Regions from separate parts of the Homo sapiens genome. Here all the other regions are linked to region 1. The links are contacts of gene promoters, found by promoter capture Hi-C in human tissues and cell types (Jung and others, 2019). All regions are on one chromosome and are shown on one strand. The core of a region is centred on a gene start or on the middle of the fragment in contact, and the rest is flanking DNA. Distances in the headings are between cores, read along the strand shown. Region 1 holds the start of NR5A1 (nuclear receptor subfamily 5 group A member 1). Region 2 overlaps NR6A1 (nuclear receptor subfamily 6 group A member 1). Region 3 overlaps ADGRD2 (adhesion G protein-coupled receptor D2).

What was found. Contacts are between HindIII fragments. The study calls those that stand out against the background at their distance.
Region 2: a contact is called between a fragment that was not itself captured here and the fragment with the promoter of NR5A1 in region 1, in 1 of the 25 tissues and cell types used here (IMR-90 fibroblasts).
Region 3: a contact is called between a fragment that was not itself captured here and the fragment with the promoter of NR5A1 in region 1, in 2 of the 25 tissues and cell types used here (IMR-90 fibroblasts and dorsolateral prefrontal cortex).

The regions. Positions count from the first base shown.
Region 1 is chr9:124,505,649-124,509,365 of GRCh38, reverse strand. NR5A1 (nuclear receptor subfamily 5 group A member 1) reads left to right here and starts at 1,967. Exons shown (of 7, transcript NM_004959.5): 1 at 1,967-2,117. RefSeq lists a cis regulatory region at 1,885-1,890, promoters at 1,872-2,016, 1,887-2,210 and an enhancer at 981-3,717. The HindIII fragment of the contact is 26,734 bases long and covers 1-3,717 here.
Region 2 is chr9:124,546,229-124,550,226 of GRCh38, reverse strand. All of the region lies in intron 3 of NR6A1 (nuclear receptor subfamily 6 group A member 1), which reads left to right. Among named protein-coding and RNA genes, the nearest start is that of NR5A1, 41 kb to the right of the region's middle. The HindIII fragment of the contact is 3,043 bases long and covers 1-2,805 here.
Region 3 is chr9:124,455,951-124,460,141 of GRCh38, reverse strand. ADGRD2 (adhesion G protein-coupled receptor D2) reads right to left here. Exons shown (of 25, transcript NM_001395425.1): 10 at 3,409-3,520; 11 at 2,536-2,670; 12 at 1,906-2,029; 13 at 1,421-1,526. Among named protein-coding and RNA genes, the nearest start is that of ADGRD2, 7.6 kb to the right of the region's middle. The HindIII fragment of the contact is 3,941 bases long and covers 1-3,919 here.

The sequences.
Region 1 (3,717 bases), core at 718-3,217:
AAGAACTTCTCTAGGTGAAAAAGACATAATTACAAGGTCATGCACATTGAGGAATAAGTTGTCTGTTACGTTGTAGGTGGAATATATTCGATCAGTTAGCTATGACTGTTGGTGAAATTATATTATAAAAATTATTATTATTGAATTAATGATTATTAATTATTAAAACCCTATTGCCCGGGCTAGAGTGCAGTGGCACAATCATAGCTCACTGCAGCTCCAACTCCTGGGTTCAAACCATCCTCCTGCCTCAGCCTCCCGAGTAGCCGGGACTACAGTCTATCAGTATTATTGTTGTATGTTCACACACAATTTTAAGTGGCATAATGAGGAAAACACACACTAGGTTTTATTTTATTTTATTTTATTTTATTTTATTTTATTTTATTTTATTTGAGACGGAGTCTCACTCTGTCGCCCAGGCTGGACTGCAGTAGCACAATCTTGGCTCACTGCAACCTCTGCCTCCCAGGTTCAAGCGATCCTCCTGCCTCAGCTTCCCAAGTAGCTGGGACTACAGGCACAAGCCACCACACCAGGTGAATTTTTCTATTTTTTAGTAGAGATGGCGTTTTGCCATGTTGGCCAGGCTTGTCTTGAACTTCTTGACCTCAGGTGATCCGCCCACCTTGGCCTCCCAAAGTGCTGGGATTACAGGCATGAGCCACAGTGACTGGCTGGAAAACACATAGGTTTTAAATATAGTTGGCGTTTCTACTTTTTCAGTGGCCTTCCATGAAAAAATATATATAGGGAGAGTTGGCTTCACTTCACTTATCCAGAAAAGTCCCTCTTGTTCCAGATAAGTGAGGTGTTGGGTGTGATTTATTTATTTCCTCCAATGAAGGGATATGTGGGAGGAGGGGTGGTTCTCAACAGTGACTGCCCCATAGTCACCCTGTGCCCCTCCCTGCTCTCCCAAGATGAAAGGCACGGAGGTAAATCCTCTGAGGACAGAGACTTTTCTTCTCTTTCCTATGGGATCCCTGGTGCCTGGAACAGTGCCTGACCCCTAAGTGTGCGCTCAGTAAATGTGAGACAAACAGAGGAACACACAAAAGATCCAGTCACCGTGGGAGCGGCACAACACCCTGCAACCCGGGCCCTACAGGAACAGGATATTTCAGAGCCCATCTGGGCCCAGAGATTGGATGGGGACGTCCCAGGTTGTCTAGGGAGGCCTAGCCTTCTAGATAAGGGCCCCTTCCTGCTACCCTGTCCTATCCTGGACTAGCTTCATACTTGGTTCAACCTGGGGCCACTATAGCCACCACTTGGCCTCAGAGGCAGTCTCAGCCCAGCCTCAGTTTTTCCAGCCATCGACTGGGAACATCAGCAGCCCACAGCAGATGAGGACATTCAGAGGCCACCGTGGCATGCACGCACCAGGTGTCCAGGCCGCTCACCTGCTCCCCTTCCGGCCCCCCTCTTCTTCCACCTGATGGAAGAGGAAAAAGAGGTGGAAGCAGCAGGCCGCCTAGTCAAGTCGCCATGGCCTTGCCTCCGCACTGGCCTGTCCTGACTCTACTCCAATGTCCGGGCTGGGCCAGACCATGCCAGGCCAGGCCCCAGGGAGGTAGCCATTCACAAGGAGAGAGGAGCAGGCGGCAGGCCGGGTGGGGGAGCAGCCCATAAATCAAGCCCCACTCCCACCCGGTTTCTAACAAGCGGGGCTGCCTACCCGCCTCTGTGGGGTCCCTGCCTCTGGGCTCCCACAGCGGGCCTGGAACAGCCAGCTGGCCAAGGCCTCTGCAGTGCCTTGGCCTCCGCCCCCACCCTCAGCCCCCAGATAGATAGGGGTATTTTTTTTCTTTTAGGAGAAGAAGAAAAAATAGACGTAAATGAAGAGAAACACCAACAAAGAAGGCGAGAGGCCTGCAGAGTCACGTGGGGGCAGAGACCAATTGGGCCTCCGGTGGCCCCCCCACCAGGGCGGGGAGGAGGAGGAGGACGGACGGACAGGGCCAGCCTGCTGTCCGGCTGCCGCCCGCCGTGGTGTGAGGGGGTTTCTGCGCACCCACAGTCGCCACCGTCCCACCTGGGCTGCCGGAGCCTCCCCCTGGACCCCTGGTGCCCACTGCCACCCTCATCCGGTGTGAGAGCGCTGCTTCCGCTTCGTAAGTGAGGGCCTTGGCCCAGGCCTCTAATGGCCAGCCTCCTTCTGCAGTGCCTCCCTGCAGCCTGGGCCGGCCACTGCCTGCTCCACTTAGTGACCGGTGCCCCCTGCTCTGGGCAGGGAAGGTGCCAGGGGTCTCCCAGACTCACCCTCCCACCATGCTACCCCCTCTTCTTCCCTGGGCTGCCGATGGGAGGAGCCAGGCCTGTGACCACAAGCCCCATGGAGGTCCGCTGGTGTCCCGCTGTCTCTGGCCAGGCATCCACCAGGCTGTGTGGGTCTGAGCCTAGAGGTCTGTGAGTGTGTCTGGAGGGCTCTGGGCCTGTCTTGGGGCTCTGTCCCCCACCTGAGTTTCTGTGTTGTCTCTGTGGCTCTCTCTGAGTCTTGCTGTGTATCCGTGTGTCTGTCTCCGGCATCCATCTGTCAGCCTGGGTTCTGCGGCCGGGCCAGGTCTAGGCTTCCCTCCCTGGGTGGGTGGATGAGGGGCTGGAACTCCCCAGGCGGTGGGCTGGAACCTGGAACCTGTGGGGGTGGGTGCCTCGGAGCCTGGAGTGCAGAGGAGCCATGGGCTTCCAGCCGGTGAGAGTAGAAACCCTTGGGGAGAGGGGATTGGAGATAGAGGGAGAAGGGCCTGAGCCCAGCCCCCACCCAACCCCGGCGGCTGGGGCCTGTGTGTCCAGCTCCAGGTTTCCAGGAGACCTCGGGTGAGCTCTACCTTAGAACAGCCAACTGGGGCACCCCAGCCCATCATCCACCAACCCCCTTCCCTCCTGCAGTCACTGTCTGAGGGCTCCATTGTGGTGGGGAGCTGTTCAGAGGCGGCAGTGACCCCCACCTCCAGCTCGGGCAGATGCTCTTGTTTCTCAGGGGTTTGGGGGTGCGGGGGGTACGATTAACAGGGTCTCTGGCTCTTTCTTCCCTCCTCATCCAAGATTCTTGCATGGAAACCGCAGTACCCCATCTGTAAAGCCAACATGTTCCACTTTATGCTCGGAGAAAACTGAGGCTCTCGTTTCAGAGAGGAGAAGTGACTTGCCCGAGCTTGCACAGCTAGTCTGCGGGTTCTGCTCCTTCTGTGGGTGAGCCAGCTGAGTGCGGTCTGCGCGGGGGGTTCTCTGGCCACAACTTGCAGGCCCCAGGCCCAGCTCCAACCGAAGCCCGAGGCCTCCAGGCGGGCGGGAGCCCAGATGGAGCCTTTTGGTGGGTTGCGCCGCTGTCAATGCAAAATTGCGGTATTTTCCTGCTTGAAGATCGCAGCTTTTTGGCCTCATGGTCCCCAAACTCTCTCTGACCCCAGGTGCCAGCGGGGGCGGAGGCAGGATGCAAGCAGGCCCCTTCCTTTCGGGTCCGTTTCTCCAGCTGAAAAACAGTGGCCCCGCGGATGGTCCCTAGCCCAGAGCAACTGCTTGGCCCATAGGCCCGGGAACCCCTTTGTCCCCAAGACCGCCCAGCGCTTTCTTCCTCGCCCCACCCCCCCGTGAGAGCTCCGAGGGGAGCAGCGGGGCCCTGCCTCCGGGCTCCTCTCCCAGCTCCTGCGCCCGTAGAGGCTTCGGGTCCCCCCAGGCCTCGGACATTTGTAAAATGGGATTTCCACGAGTCCC
Region 2 (3,998 bases), core at 35-2,534, 42 kb before region 1:
AGAGAATTCTGACAGACATAACTTTAGCCAAGTGATCAAGATTAACAGTACCAATAAAACACACCAACATTGTATATACCCCCTGATATGAAACACTGAGAAGGTCACACATATACACACACAGAGAGGTAAGTTCACTCAATCTAATCCTGAGAAAACAAACAAGCCCATATTGAGGGACATTCTTCAGAATAACTGACATTTGACAAAATACCCATTTGAAAAGTGTCAAAGTCACAAAAAAACAAGGAAAGACTGAGCTGTCACAGATTGGAGAAGACTATGAAGGCATGACAGCTAAATGCAATGTGGGCCCCTGGATTGTGTTCTGGAACAAAAGATATCAGTGAAACAACTGGAGAAATCAAAATAAAGTATGTACTTTGGTTAATAGTATTGTACCAAGGTTAATTTCCTAGTTTTGATGACTAGACATGATTATGTCCATTGTTAAAAGGAGGAGGGTGTATGGGAACTCTCCATACTATTTTTGCAACTCTTGTATAAAGTCTAAACTTACCTCAAAATTTAAAAAATTAACTATTAAAAAAATGCAGCTGCCATTTGTGGCTGGGGCTTTTTCACCTATGTGCAAGACAGCTCTCTGTTGTTCTCCATCTTTGGATATGGAACTGAGTATCTTTTCAGACCTGAAAGTTGGCTGGTCAGAAAACTCCTTAGCAAAGCAATGAGGAAGATCTAAAGAAGGGTGGTGAATGGAGACTGGGCCCTGTCTGTCCATCCCCACTACTGCACTAGTATCCCCCATGTATGTTCCTTACCCATCTTGCAGTCTTCGGGATAAAGTCAGGCTCCTTAAGGTGATTTTCAAGGCCCCTCTGACACTGGCATCAGCCACCTGATCCCTTTCCTTCTCCATTTGGTGTTCCCCACTCACAATCTGCATTCCATCCTAGTTCTTCAAAAACCCAGTGATGTTTCCTGTTTTGCACATGTGGTTTCATCTGCCTGGAAGAAGAGGGGGTTTAAACATCCACCCCTTCTTCTACTCCTGACTTCAAGGTTCAGCGTTTATTTGTAACATCCTCTAAGAAGCCTTCTCTGACACCATCCCCCACCAGATAACCCTCCTGTGCTTCCACAGCTTTTTTGCATGCCTTCTGCCATAACCCTGGTCATCTTGTGTTATCTTTCTCTGTTCACTCATCTGTTTCCCTCATTATTAGACAATGAGCCCCTCAAGGGCCATGATCAAGTCCTACTTTTCTGTTGGTCCTTCAGCAAATAACTCAGTAGTGATAGGATGCTCCCTGGTTAGATGGATTGACTGTGATGGAGGGCCATGGCAGGAAGTGGGATGGGGAAAATATTGTCAGAGGAGAAATGAGGATACAGTCAGCTTCGTGGCGGGTGGTGGGGGTGGGTGTCATGTTAGTTAAGTAACTGTGAAAAAATAAAAAATTTCCTTAACTCTGTGGTCTCATAACTTGCTAACTAGTTCAAAAGTATAAAGGTCAAGGAAAGCTTCTTGGAGGAGGTGATGTTTGCAGAATGGCATTGTGAGGCAGTGATCCTGTGGCATCGCCATATCACTTTACCAGGGTAAAAAGTGCCCCAGGACACAACACAGAGGTCTGCATGAAGCACTGAGAAATCTCAAGGAGGGATAACATTTGAGCAGAATCTTAAAGAAATCAAAGTTCGTGTTCCTTACAAACATTTTTTTTACATTTCTTACATTTTCCTTATGAACTTTTTTTTTTACATTTTATTATACCAAAAAAATTTGTAGAGACAAGTTTTCAGCATGTTGCCCAGGCAGCTCTTGAACTGAGGATCAAGTTCAGCTGAGCTAAACTGAGCTCAAGCAATCCTCCCGCCTCAGTCTCCCAAAGTGCTGGGATTATAGGCATGAGCATATGCCTGCCAAAAGATTGTTTGTTTTTAAATTAAGACTTTAAAATTTTGTTCTGTTTTATTTTTAAATAATTTCAAGCTTACAGAAAAGTTGCAACAGTAGTAATAATTCCCATATGCCCTTTACCTAAATTCACCAATTGTTAACATTTTGCCACATTTGCTTTATCATGCTATTTGTTTTATTATTTTCCCTCCCCCCTCCCCCTTGCTCTTCTTTCTGTCTCTCTCTTCCACCTTCCCCACTTCCCACAGGTAAGTAAGTGTGTGTGTGCCTGCATGTACGCACCTTCTTAGCCATTTGAGAGTGAGGCATAGGCAGTGTTCCTTTTATTTCTAGCAATCACAGTACTGTTATCAAAATCAGGAAATTTAACCTGACACAGTACTATCTTATTAGCAGATCTTATTCAATTTTTGCCAGTCATCTCAGTGTCCTTTATAGCAATTTTATTTTCTCTGATCTAGAAGCCACTTCAGGAAATCACATTACATTTAGTTTTTATGTCTTTTCAGTCTCTTTTAATCTGAAATAGTTCGTCAGTCTTTCTTTGTCTTTATTAACATTGTCGATTTTGAAGCAAATAGGTCATGTATTTTGTAGAATATCCCTTAATTTGGGCTTGTCAGTTTCCTCACGAATACATGCAGGTTATGCATTTTTCGCAAGAATGCCATAGAAATGATGTTGTGTCCTTCTTAGACCATAATATCAAGAGCACATGATGTAAGTGTATACCCATTATTGGTGATATTAACTTGAATCACTTGGTTATGATGATGTCACTTAGGGAAGGTGATGTTGCCAGATTTTTCCACTTTAAGTTTCTTTCTGAGTACAGGCAACATATGCAGAGACAGAACTATGTAAAACAGAATAGCATGTTTAAAGACTAACAAATAGTTATCTACATGTAGGGTATAGCATTTATGGCAAGAGATGAGGATGAGGGGTCCCACCAGAACCAGATGATAGATGGTCTTGAATGCCATGCTAAGGAGCTTAGATTTGGCCCATGAACCAAAGGCACCACCGACAGGTTTTGAGTGGAGCTTTGATGTAGTTAGCTTTGTTATTTATGGTTTCTGGGTTTTGTTGACTGCCTAAGCCCAAGCAAATGAAGAATGGTAGGCATATGAGTTCCAAAGCAGAAAAAGTGTTTGTGGTGCCTTCTGAGAAGATAGAAGAGCCATGGCTAGGGCCATTCTCTTTCTTAGACTTAGATAAGAGTTACAGCAGAACCATTCCTGTAATACTGCACACAGGAGCCATTTGTTCTTTTTAATCAAATCACTGCCAAATAGATTTTAGCCCTGCTGAAAAACTTGTTAGTTCAGTATGGCATCAAGGAACAAGTACAGCTTTAGAATCAGAAGATCTAAATGGAAACTCCAGCTCTGTCAGTTCTTCCCTGAGCAAATCTCTTTACCTCTCTGAGCTCTGTTTCCTCATCTCAAAAATGCGTGGGAGAATAATACACCTTCCAAGGTGGTTGTGAGGATCACATGAGATAACATACATATGTGCAAGAACATTATAAGTTTGAAAATATGGTCCAAGTTTTTGTTTTTAACAGAGGCAGTGTGGCACATTGTATTGATTTCCACACTTCAGGTGGTTTCATGGCATCTTGACCGATTTTATCATCTCTAAATGGGTACTGCTGTTTATATTAGTCTTTCAATAACTTTTAAAAATCAAAGTTAATTTTTAAAGGCAATTCTTTACCACCTCATTAAAACTTTGTTCTGTTTTATTTTGAAGTAATTTCAAGCTTACAGAAAATTTGCAACAGTAGTAAGAATTCTCATCTGCCCTTTACCCAAATTCACCAATTGTTAACATTTTGCCATGTGAGTTGCACATCAGAATAAATGTATAATTTAAGAATAATTAATAATTAAGAATGTATAATTAAGAGTTTATGCACCACCTAAAAGTATCTTATGTTTCTCCACTAGGATGCATACATAGTAGTAGTAGAAAGAAGTCTGGTCTTACAGTCTGATAGTGTGGGTTCCAACCCTGATTCTGCTCTTTAGTTTCTGTCTCTTCCAGCAAAATACTTCATTTCTGTGAGCCTTAGATCCATCTGTTCAATGGGAGTGATACTAATACT
Region 3 (4,191 bases), core at 700-3,199, 49 kb after region 1:
TATATACAAGAGAGTGATAAGCTGTGGTTGGTGTGTGTGTGTGTGTGTGTGTGTGTCCAAGATTACTGGTTGTGAGCAAAGAAGACTTGCTTTCTCTGAAACATTCTAGTGTTTCAGAAGGGAGAAGAAATTTGTGTATTAAGCGTGAAATGAAATTTAACATATCTTGGAGATCTTTCCACGTCAGTTTATAGAGAAATACCTCAATCCCTATATAACTTTCAGTTGACTATTCCATTGCACACTTGGTCCCTATTACCTGCGGGAGATTGGTTCCAGGACCCCCAAGGATGCCAAAACCTGCTGAGGCTCAAGTTTTTTATATAAAATGGCATGGTATTTGCATATAACCTAAACACATGCTCCTGTATACTTTAAGTCATCTCTAGATTACTTGTAATACCTAATACAACTTAAATGCTATATAAATAGCTGTTATACTGTCTTGCTTAGGAAATAAAATATAAATATATAAATAGCTGTTATACTGTCTTGTTTATGACCCCCAAAATAAAAGTCTATAGATGTTCAGTACAGATGCTATTTTTTCTGAATATTTTCCACCCATGGTTGCTTGAATCCTTGGTGGCGAAACCCTCCCATATGGAGGGCTGACCATATATATCTACAAAACTTTTTTTTTTTTTTGAGACAGAGTCTTGTTCTGTCACCCAGGCTGGAGGGCAGTGGTGTGATTTCGGCTCACTACAACCTCCGCCTCCTGGGTTCAGGCGGTTCTCTTGCCTCAGCCTCCCTAGTAGCTGGGACTACAAGTGTGTACCACCATGCCTGGCTAACTTTTGTGTATTTTTAGTAGAGATGGGGTTTCACCATGTTGACCAGGCTGGTTTCGAACTCCTGACCTCAAGTGATCCGCCCGCCTCGGCCTCCCAAAGTGCTGGGATTACAGGCGTAAGCCACCGTGCCCGGACCTACAAAACATTTAAAGTAGTCCCCTACTGATGGACATTTAGGTTATTTTTATTTGTATGAAGCGCATTCATATGTGAAGGCCCCTGTACACACACTGCAGTGAGTGAATGAATGAATTCACTGCACATGCTGCAGTGAATGACTCCATGGGAACTAACAGGTTTTCAAGTTATGCAGACGTAGAATGAAATCCCAGCTCTGCCACTTACAAGCTGGGGCCAATCACGTCAGCCCTCCCAAGCTTTGGATGAAGTGCGCGGTTGGAGGATTAAACGAAGGCTGCGTATCTGTGGCACCTGCCATAAGGTGACCCTGCAGTCAATCGCTTCCCTTCCCATTCCCTTGAGGACAATGGAGGTGGCTTGCAGGTACCTTTTGTGTGCATTATTAGGCCTTGGTTGTCCATTGGATAAATACTGGGGGTTGGGGGAACTGAACCAGGACACGTGCGCCAGGATGGCTGCTTCCCAGAAGCGCCACCCAGTACCTGGGCCCGGTGCTGGAGATGAAAGGTCATGGCCACGTTGACCTCTCCAGTGACGTCCCACACTTCAGAGGAGATGATGGCTGACCCCACCTGGGTGCTTAGGAACCTGTGGGAAGAATGGGAGCTTTCAAGGGTGGCTGTGGAGGAGGGATGGTGCCTGGCTGCGGCATGTCACCCAGGCCCCTACGGTGGAGGTGGCAGCCTCTGTGTCCGAAGGGATATCAGGAATTGTGGCACCTGGTTCAGTCTTGCCTTAGGGACTTGCTGGTAACTTGGGTAAGTCCCAACACAGAAGCCAGAACCCCAGACAGGAGTTGAGCCGTGTTCACCTCTGGCAGGTGCAGAAGTGTGTGTGTGTTGGGCAGGGGTGGGAAAGGGTGGGCCCTGGGCTGCTAAGGACACATGCGCCCACCAGAACGGGGGCTTTGGCCTTCCTTGGGGAGGGGACACAGGCCCTCACAGCCCTCCAGGTGGCGCCTACTCACCTCTGCACCCTGTTTGCCTCCTCTGAGCTGGCAGGGGCCTGGGGCTCTAGGTCCGGTCCCTCTAGGGTGTGCTGGAAGACTCTGGAGGTGAACCAGCTGTGGATCACGGTGACTCCAGAGAGGCCTGGCTGAGAGGAAGGGGCACCAAGGCACCACCCGGTGGCTGGGCAAGCACCACCAGTTGGCCCCGAGGGTGATGCTCTCCCCACTCTAGAGATAGGGAAACTGAGGCTCAGAGAGGTAAACTGACTTCCCTAAGATCACACAGCTAAGAAGTGGAAGAGCCAAAATTCCAAGCAGCCACAGTCCATGTGCTGAACCTCACAACTCCAAGGCCCTTTGCCCCTTGCCCTAATCCCCCACCCCTGCATGGCATCAAGCATAGGGGATCTTCCTCCACCACCCACTCCCGAGGGAAGATGTGTGTGGTTCGGTGGAGGAGAGTAAGTGAACACCACTCTGTGGTGGGTGCTTTTAACCTCATAAGCCACAAGGCAAGTAGTAATGTGCCCATTTTACAGACGAGCAAACTGAGGATCTGAAAGATGAGTAGCACAGCTAGCGACAGTTAGAGCTGAGGTTTGACCCAGAACCCAACAGGGCTCTGGACACCCCCTCATCCTCACCCACCTTTCCTGAGGAGTCGCCTCACTTCACTCGCAGGAATGTGGATATGGCCGGGCCCCTCTGGACGCCCACCAGGCATTGTGAATAAGCAGCCCCTCGTGCTGGCCTCCCTCAAGCGTAAGCTCCGCACCTCCAGGCCTGGGGGTAAATGGGGCTGGGTGGCTGGACCTCGGAGTGAGGTCTTTCTGCTGAGCAGGCCCAGCTAGCAGGGTCTGGATCCCTCCTTCCTGCCATAGGCCTAGGAGGCCACCATTCCTGCTCAGAGAGGTTCAGCAACTTGCCCAAGGCAAATCTGACTTTTCCAATTCCAGGGGAAGGGGGTCACTGAGAAGGAGGGGCGGTCACCGCGAGGCAGGACCTGAATATTGATGAGTCACCAGAAACTGGTGGGTACCCGAAGGACACGTGTTTGTACCTGAAGCTTCACCACAGGTGCACCCCCATTCAGGCTACAAACATTCACGGAGTGTGTACTTGGGCTTGGCCCCAAGATGCTGAGATGGCTCAGAAACAGCCTTACCACTCAAGGAGTGTCCCATAGAGGGAGATAATTCCATTATGTAATTACCAGAAATGCAATGAAAGACATGTTCAAGGTTCTGGGGTAACAGAGGCGGGAGGAACTGTCTCTCAGAGGAGGAGAGAGCTAAAACAGGAAGGCTTCCTAGAGGGAGTGAGGCCCACACAGGGTTCTGAAGGATGTATAGGTGTTTGCTAGGAGATCGAGGGAGAGAGGGCATTCTGGATGCAGGGCACAGCATGGGCAAAGGCAGGAAATAGAATGGAGTGTCTGTGGAAGTTCAGACAGCTCCCAGTCACCAGGGCTGAGGAGGGAGGTCTGAGTCCAGCCGTGTGGGCAGGTGGGTGCAGGCTCACCAGCATGGCGGTGCTGGATGCGCATTCGGGGCCGCTCTGAGGTCATTGAGGTGCTCAGCAGGGGTGCCAGGCGCTGCACACTCGCCACCAGGGCCATAGGCCCACCAATCACCTGGGAGGACGCTGCATCTCAGCTCTCTGTCACACTCTGCACCCCACTGCCGCCTGCCCTGAGCGCTGGGATAAATGCTCCATGATCTGGGAGGTGGTCCTGCCCTCTCCAGACCCTCCGTGGCTCTTTAAGGACTCTAGGATCAAGTCCTGGGTCCTCAGGTTGACATTTGAAGCCCTGCCTGCCCCAGCCTCCTTCGACCTATCCAATTCTATCTCCCAAGCCACCCCATCCTCCTGTTTGCCAACCAGGGCACACTCCGAAGGCTGGGCCATGCCTACCCCTTTGCTGTGGCTCAGTGCTAGACCTGTAATGGGTGCTCAACACTGAGATTCCAAAAGGAAAGCCATGGATGGGGGTGGTGAGAGCAGGGGAGGGAGGAGAGGAACCTGCATTCATGGGGCACCTACTCTGTGCTGGGCAAGTCACACTGTTCATCCCTAACGCCTCTCCATTGCCTTAGCAAGGCTGGCGTGATCATCCCTATTCCCCAGGGAAGAAAACTGAGCTTCAGTCTGGCTTTCCTCAGTCTACTGCAGTGCCTCGGATCCCTAATCAACTATGGGCTTGCACACTTCCCAGGACGGGGAGCTCACTACCCATGGTGAATCATTCCATAGAACCAGCCTCCTGTGTTATGCCGTCTTCCCCTACCCCCATGTCCTAGTCCC